Regions from separate parts of the Homo sapiens genome. Here region 1 is linked to region 2. Evidence: promoter capture Hi-C in 16 types of primary human blood cells and fetal thymus (Javierre and others, 2016). All regions are on one chromosome and are shown on one strand. Each heading gives the region's core, a stretch centred on a gene start or on the middle of the fragment in contact. The rest is flanking DNA. Distances are from core to core; before and after follow the strand shown. Region 1 overlaps SAAL1 (serum amyloid A like 1). Region 2 holds the start of MISFA (mitochondrial sheath formation associated).

What was found. Contacts are between HindIII fragments. The CHiCAGO score rates a contact against its expected background, and 5 or more counts as called.
Region 1: a fragment that was not itself captured here is called in contact with the fragment with the promoter of MISFA in region 2 in 1 of 17 cell types (total B cells); the score reaches 5.2 in total B cells.

Annotation. Positions count from the first base shown.
Region 1 is chr11:18,078,759-18,082,896 of GRCh38, reverse strand. SAAL1 (serum amyloid A like 1) reads left to right here. Exons shown (of 12, transcript NM_138421.3): 11 at 1,394-1,486; 12 at 2,406-2,605. The coding sequence ends at 2,498. Among named protein-coding and RNA genes, the nearest start is that of SAAL1, 25 kb to the left of the region's middle. The HindIII fragment of the contact is 1,393 bases long and covers 1,349-2,741 here.
Region 2 is chr11:18,597,540-18,601,615 of GRCh38, reverse strand. It overlaps MISFA (mitochondrial sheath formation associated), which reads right to left and starts at 1,827. Exons shown (of 4, transcript NM_001355570.4): 1 at 1,619-1,827; 2 at 436-524. The coding sequence starts at 1,687. It overlaps LOC112268073 (a long non-coding RNA gene), which reads left to right and starts at 2,069. Exons shown (of 4, transcript XR_002957242.2): 1 at 2,069-2,185. The HindIII fragment of the contact is 4,225 bases long and covers 1-2,456 here.

The DNA of each region.
Region 1 (4,138 bases), core at 796-3,295, 520 kb after region 2:
CACTTGGGAGGCTGAGGCAGGTGGATCACTTGAGCCCAGGAGTTTGAGACCAGTTTGGGCAACATGGCAAAACCTCATCTCTACAAAAAATACAAAAATTAGCTGGGCATGGTGGCACACGCCTGTGATCCTAGCTACTTGGGAGGCAAAGATGGAAGGATTGCTTGAGCCCAGGAGGTCGAGGCTGCAGTGAGCCCAGACTGTGCCACTACACTCCAACCTGAGCGACAGAGTGAGACCCTATCTCAAAAAACAAAATGAAACAAAAAGTTTCTCTTATTCTGGTGATTTTTTTTTTATTAGTTGTCTTGCTTCCCTTTTCCATATTTGTATTTTCCAGATTTGGGGTTATTACCTTAGCAGGTTTTATATAATTTAAATTACTGGATTCAACATTATAAATGTGAAGATGGCTAAGTCATGATGGCCATATTTTGTCAAAATGCTATTTATATGTGAAAATGTTGGTTTTACTTGACGCTTATTATTGGGTATTATAATTTTTATGTCAAAGTTCAGGTAATAAATTGTGTCTTACTTTGATTTGCATTTTTAAATTAATGAGATTGAAATATTTGGATGTCGTATGTTAATTTGTTTCCTACCTTTTAATAATTTATCCATTTTGATTATTTGTATGAATTTCTTGGGTAATAATGTATCTTTTCCATATTTATCGCATGTATTTTTTTCCCATTCTTTGCTGTTGTTTCTGTTTTTTGGAGCAAGGGACATCGATATTTCTTAACTTTTAAGTGGTGGGAACATCAAAGAAAGGTGGGCTGAGAATACACGAGTGCTATGTCATGCAAATTCTTATGTCATATTTAGGGGATTTAGACTTCATCTTGAAAAAGCTGAGGAACTACTAAAGATTTTTTACTTTTAAGCACCAAGTGATACGATCAGTTTAGAAAGATTACTCCAAAAGCAATAGAGAGGAAGGAGTAGAGAGAGTTGAGGCTGGAGGGCAGGAGATCAACTAACAGGCTCTTGTGGTTGGTAATCTTCAAGAATAATCTGAAAAATGATGGCAGCCTAAACAATGGAAGTTTGAATGGAGAGGAGGGATGGGGGTAAGAGAGATTTGGTAGAATAGAATTGAGCACTTGCCGGGAGGAGTCAGCAGGAGGGGAGAAGGAAAAGTCTTGGCTGTGTTCCAAGTTTGTAGTCTGTGTAGCAGGGTGGATGGTGGTGCCCTTCACTAAAGTAAAGACGACAGTGGAGAACATGTTTGGGTTACATAAGCCTCCTTGATGTTGGTGGGTTCAGGTGGGACATTTGAAATGCCTATGAAGTCAGGAGGGAATTGAATATCCTGATTTGTTTTTATTCACTAGTTAAAGCTTGAAAAATTTTCCTTTTTTGACATTAAATCTTGTTGTTGTTTTAGGAGACGGTGGCTCAGGGAGTAAAGGAAGGCCAGTTGAGCAAACAGAAGTGTTCCTCTGCATTTCAAAACCTTCTTCCTTTCTATAGCCCTGTGGTGAGTATGGGTAAATGTATATAGGTGGCCAAGTTTTGTAGGATTACTAAATGTTTTCAAGTAAGCACTTGATTTCGAGGTCATTGTCAAAAATGATAGTATATACAATTTATATGACTTAATGCCTTTGTCAGATAGATGACTGCTGGAAACAGAAAACCAAATACCGTATGTTCTCACTTGGAAGTAGGAGCTAAACCATTGGATACTATGGACATACAAATGGGAGCAGTAGACACTGGGGACCACAGGAGGAGGGGAGGGAGAGAGGGAGGGCAAGGGCTGAAAAACTACCTATTGGGTACTAAGCTCACTGCCTGGGTAACAGGTTCATCTGTGCCTCAAACCTCGGCATCATGTAATATACCTTTATAACAAACCTGCACATTTAGACTCCCCTGAGTCTACAATAAAAGTTGAGGGAAAAAAAGATGACTACTGGAAAATTCATAATAGTATTGGGAGTAACAATTCTAAGAGGAAAAAAATAAGCTCTGAATTTATAGTACTCCTTTCTGTTATGAAGTAGATAACATCTATATTAAGCCAAAATCAGATTCTTGGGAATAGTCAGTAGGTTTTTATGGTTCTTCAAATGACATCACATTTCCTACCATTAGAATCAGATTTCAAAATAGGAACTTTTTCAGGAAAATGAAGGACAGAATGTGGGAACAGACTGTAAAGAAGAGGCGGGGGGAGAAGTACTAGCTCAAGAGTAAAACGGAATGGGAAAGCATAGTCATTTCCTTGAGAATGATTTAGAAGACTGCTTAGGAAGTACTGTTACTATCATCTGGAGATCTGCCAGCATTTCTTTTCCATTGGACCATTTAGAAACCACAGGTAGAGCAATCAGTACCTTAAAGCACGTTTTTCTCTTCTGTGTTTGATTTTTGTTTGTTTGTTTGACTCACAGGTGGAAGATTTTATTAAAATCCTACGTGAAGTTGATAAGGCGCTTGCTGATGACTTGGAAAAAAACTTCCCAAGTTTGAAGGTTCAGACTTAAAACCTGAATTGGAATTACTTCTGTACAAGAAATAAACTTTATTTTTCTCACTGACAGTTGAAATTGACTTATTGGAAATATTAACTAAAGCCCATATTAGACCATAATTGTCTGGTGTTAACATTTTTCTGTCCTAGACTTGTCTCACTTTTTTTGACTTTGGAATCTGAGGTTTCACCACTGTCACCCCTCTTTTTATGTGATATTTATCATCCTCAGTTGAGGAAAGCAAAAATGTAAGCTTATCATTGAGGTTCTTTTTAGGATATGTGCGAGATCAGTGTTGATTTTCTTCATAGCTGTTAATTTTGTTTGTTTGTTTGTTTGTTTTGAGACAGAGTCTCACTCTGTCGCCCAGGCTGAAGTGCAGTGGTGCGATCTCAGCTCACTGCAAGCTCCGCCTCCTGGGTTTATGCCATTCTCCTGCCTCAGCCTCCCGAGTAACTGGGACCACAGGTGCCCGCCACCACGCCTGGCTAATTTTTTGTATTTTTAGTAGAGACAGGGTTTCACTGTGTTAGCCAGGATGGTCTCGATCTGACCTCGTGATCTGCCCGCCTTGGCCTCCCAAAGTGCTGGGATTACAGGCGTGAGCCACCGTGCCCAGCCTAATTTGATTTTTTTAAGTGAGAATTACGTCTTTGTATCCACTGTTAAGTATATTCAGCTGCAGTAACAGAAACCCTCCTGTAGCAGCTGAATCTGATCTCTTTCAGGAACCTTATGCAAAAATCCAGATGTAATGAGGTGGCTCCTTTCACCCTTCACGTGGTCTGCCAGGTAGGCCTTTGCGTTCATGTTTATTGCCTTGTGGTTAAGGGGGCTGTGCCATCTCTGGGCCTTTATCCACATTCAGGAAGAAAAAGGGAGAAAGAGAAGGGGCTTTTTCCTACCAAGTCTTTATGTGTGTTTGGCTGGGTTGGGGGGGTGCTTTTTAATAGATTTTTAAGAAAATATCTGTTAGGAATAACAAAGCCAGCTTTCTGAACCTCACTTTTGGTATAGCCCCTTCCCAATTTATATCAGTTTTTTGGCTTTAAAGCATTGGTCTTGCCTCATACTTTGTTTTCTTTCCTTGAGAGATTTTTGGTGATAAAACCAGATTTTTGGTGATAAAAACAGTAATCTTATTGGTAAGAGATAATATGATTTCCAGTTTAGAGGTAGGTTTATGGTTGGAAGTGTCACTGCTGAAAAGAACTGGAACATAAAAGTAAAATCTTACAGGTGAAATCTCATTGGTAGGTTTATATATACTACACTGTATGTATATTCGCATGTCCTCAGTGCTGACCTTATTGGTAGACTGAATTGACTATATTCAGTATGAGATTTCAAAGGCACTGATGAAATCACTCCTACCTGCTAGCTGACACGAAAATTCCACTCTTGGTTTTTTTTTTGTTTAAGTTTAAGCTTAAGATGCAAACACTGATTAAGAATAATACTTGAGGTTATTAGTTATGTTTACCTCAGTGCATATGAATTTCACTTTTTTTCTGAGAGCATGTTTTTTGTTGTTTTTTTGTTTGTTTGTTTTTAATTTTTTTTCTTTTTTTTTGAGACGGAGTCTTGCTCTATCGCCCAGGCTGGAGTGCAGTGGCGGGATCTCGGCTCACTGCAAGCTCCGCCTCCCGGGT
Region 2 (4,076 bases), core at 578-3,077:
CAACATAGTGACACCTTGTCTCTAAAAAAATAAAAAAAAAATTAGCCAGGCATGGTGGCATGTGCCTGAGGATCAGCTACCCAAGAAGCTGAGATGGGAAGACTGCTTGCACCTCACTCCAGCCTGGGTGGCAGAGCAAGACCTGTTTCAGAAAAAAAAAAAAAAAAAAGAATGCTATTAATAGTATAATATATTACAGTGTTGTGAGGAGAAAAATAATAGATGGGAACAGTCTTCAAAACAACACCTATGAGACATGGTTATTAATAGACAACTTTGGCCTGCTGTCCTCAGCAGTACTCACCAAATCATTTCCCCTTCCACAGTTTATTATATTTTCCAGAGGAATAAACATTCTCCACTGAGACTTCAGGGTGCTACCAAGTACTTTGGAAAGGGAGGAATCCAACCCACCAGACCTGACCACCCACTTACTGCAGCAGATCTTCACCTAAAGCCCGCCTCCTCAGTTGTGTTTTGCTCTCCTGAACAGGCCACCTCTCCTGCCACTTCAGAGTTGGAGGCTGAATCAGAAAGAAAATTTGAGGGCAGAGATGGCTCTACTCATTGGCCCAGTGGGTAACCACTCTGTGTGGTGACCAGAAGGGCTGCTAAAAGGTCCCACCAATCCCTACCGTCCCCCTTCCTACCAATAACCACTGATCCACTTGGCCTGCAATCCGCAAGTCAAATACGGTCTCCAGCAGACCCCTTGCAAATTCCATAGTGCTTTGAAACAAGTACAGCTATATATGCAAGGGAGGGGGAAACAAAAAAAGACTTAAAAGGATGTCCTGGCCGGGCGCAGTGGCTCACGCCTGTAATCCCAGCACTTTGGGGAGCCGAGGCAGGCGGATCACGAAGTTAGGAGATCTAGACCATCCTGGCTAACACAGTGAAACCCCGTCTCTACTAAAAATACCAAAAATTAGCCAAGCATGGTGGTGGGAGCCTGTAGTCCCAGCTACTCGGGAGGCTGAGGCAGGAGAATGGCATGAACCCAGGAGGCAGAGCTTGCAGTGAGCCGAGATCGCACCACTGCATTCCAGCCTGGGCGACAGAGCAAGACTCCGTCTCCAAAAAAAAAAAAAAAAAAAAAAAAAGGATGTCCCCAGCCAGGCGTGGTGGCTCATGCCTGTAATCCCAGCACTTTGGGAGGCCGAGGTGGGTGGATCACCTGAGGTCAGGACTTTGAGACCAGCCTGACCAACATGGAGAAACCCTGTTTCTACTAAAAACACAAAATTCGCCAGGCGTGGTGGTGCATGCCTGTAATCCCAGCTGCTCAGGAGGCTGAGGCAGGAGAATCGCTTGAGCCTGAGAGGCGGAGGTTGCAGTGAGCCGAGATCGCGCCACTGCACTCCAGCCTGGGCAACAAGAGCAAAACTCCATCTCAAAAAATAATAATAATAATAAATAAAAAATAAAAAAGGATGTCCCTAGTGGGATGGGAAGTAGCCCGGTAGCCTGGGACACTAACTTTGTTCCCATCACATTCTGACTTCCAGTTAGTGGTGAGACCTCAACTATCTTTCCCATTTGGTCAGAAAACCCAGACAGGAAGATGAGCCAGCACAGGACTGACCACCAGGGATTTACAGGCAGAGCCATTACTTACCATCAACTCTGGAAACGTGCCCATGTAACACACAAGTCCAACAAAAAACATCCAGCCAAGCACAATCATGATCAAACGTAAAACAATTTCTAAGATAAAATTGCACAGTGAAAGACTATTCACCAAGATCTTGGCAAAGGAGTGCGCTCACGAAACCTTCAGTTGGTAGAGGTCTCGCATGTCTGTTCGAGTCTTTGGCTCCAAAGGATCCACAACTCCCTAGTGGAGAAGCTGAAATCTAGTAGGGCATTGTGACATCATTGACCATATGGCCCAGACTCAAAACACACCAGAGACACTGCCCCCAGACCAGCAGCTGAGCAGCAAACAGCAACACTATGAAGTAGGCATTATTGTTAACCCCATTTCACTAATCAGAAAACTAAGGCTTAGACTACAGCCTAAGTGACCCGCACTACAGCACATAGCTGATGCTCCAGATCAGGGCCAAGACTTAGGACTCAGCTGCCTCTTGGGCAGCTGGGCTCTTTACACTAGAGGCAGAGATTTGGAAAGGTGTTTTGCTGCTAGGTGTACGACATGTGAACGAAACAAACTGAATTACAGGTAAATGAGACAGATGTCTCTATTTCTGTCCCTGCAAAACCTCCTCTCCCCATGTCAAGGGGATCCTCAGCATGATGGTATATCCACATCTTCATCACCTTGGATTAGTTCCTCTCCATTGATTCTCTTTTCTTGGCCATCATGAAGCCACAGGTACCCCTGTCCTTTCCTCAAAAAAACTTCCAGATGATACTGTGGCTCCTTCCCTGTCTTATTTCTTAATTTCCTTTTATGACCAAACTTCCTAAACAAGTGGTCCATACTCAAAGCTTTTTCCAATCTACGCCTCTTCCATGCATTACATTCTGACTTCTAGCCCCACCCCACTATTAGACACCCTCTCAGAGGTCACCAAAGATATTTTTTGCTTTTCTGCTACAACATCATGGACATTTAATGTATTTTTCATCTCTACAATTTTTTTTTTTTTGAGACAGAGTCTTGCTCTGTCGCCCAGGCTGGAGTGCAGTGGTGCAATCTCAGCTCACTGCAACCTCCGCCTCCTGGGCTCAAGTGATTCTCCTGCCTCAGCCTCCCAAGTAGCTGGGATTAGAGGCACCCGCCACCACGCCTGGCTAATTTTTGTATTTTTAGTAGAGATGGTGTTTCACCATGTTGGCCAGGCTGGTCTCGAACTCCTGACCTCAGGTGATCCACCCGCCTCAGCCTCTCAAAGTCCTGGGATTACAGGCATGAGCCACCGCGCCTGGCCTGTTGTGATATTTCCTGCTTCTTTAAATGTCTTACAACTTTTGATTAGATGTTGAACATGGTAAATTTTATTGCCGAGTGCTGGATTTTGTTGTATTCAACAGTGTTAAATTTTATTCTAAGGTGCACTTAAGTTACTTGCGATCAGTTTGATTCTTCTGAGGCTTGTTTGAAGCTTTATGATAGGCCAGGAGCAGCCTTTACTCTAGGGTTAATATCCGCACTGCTGAGTTAATGACCATTTTCTCTGAGCACCTTCTCTGAGGCTGATTGTATTAGAGCTTTTTTTTTTTTTTTTTTTTTTTTTTGGAGACAGAGCTTTGCTCTTGTTGCCCAAGCTGGAGTGCAAGGGCGTGATCTTGGCTCACTGCAACCTCCGCCTCCTGGGTTCAAGTGATTCTCCTGCCTCAGCCTCCTGAGTAGCTGGGATTACAGGCATGCACCACCACGCCCGGCTAATTTTGTATTTTTAGTAGAGACAGGGTTTCTCCACGTTGGTTAGTCTGGTCTCGAACTCCTGACCTCAGGTGATCCGCCCGCCTCAGTCTCCCAAAGTGCTGGGATTACAGGTGTGAGCCACTGTGCCCGGCATAGATCTTCCAAATCTGTGGAATGTTCCACAATTCCCTGCCCTTCAGGAACTCCAAGAAGTGTTTGGCCGACTGCTTTTGGGTGGATCTTTTCCAGGCCTCATCGAGTTTTATCCCATATATGTGCAGACAGAACTCAGCCAAAGACTTATAAGGGCCCCTGTGGAAATCTACAGAGCTTTCTCCATGGAGATCCCTCTTCTTAGCACTCCATCCTGCAAATTCTGGCCTCTGCTGTATTTTGCTATCTTTCTCTTCAACTCAGTGAAATGCTCAGTTGGGTAACTCCTTTCTGTGCCACAGTCTGAAAACTGCCTCCTGGCTGGAGCAATTGTAGGACTCACCGTCACTGGTTTCCTTTCTCTCAAAGTACACAGTTTTGTGCTGTCTCTTGTACAAGATCTGAAAACAATTATTTCATGTTTTGTGCAATTTTCTATTTATGAAGAGAAGGTAATTTCTGTAACAGTTGATCCTTCACAGGCAGAAGCAGAAGTGTATGTTCTTCTTTTTGGAGACAGTCTTGCTTTGTTGTCAAGGCTGGAGTGCAGTGGCACAGTCACAGATCACTGCAGCCTTGAACTCCTGGG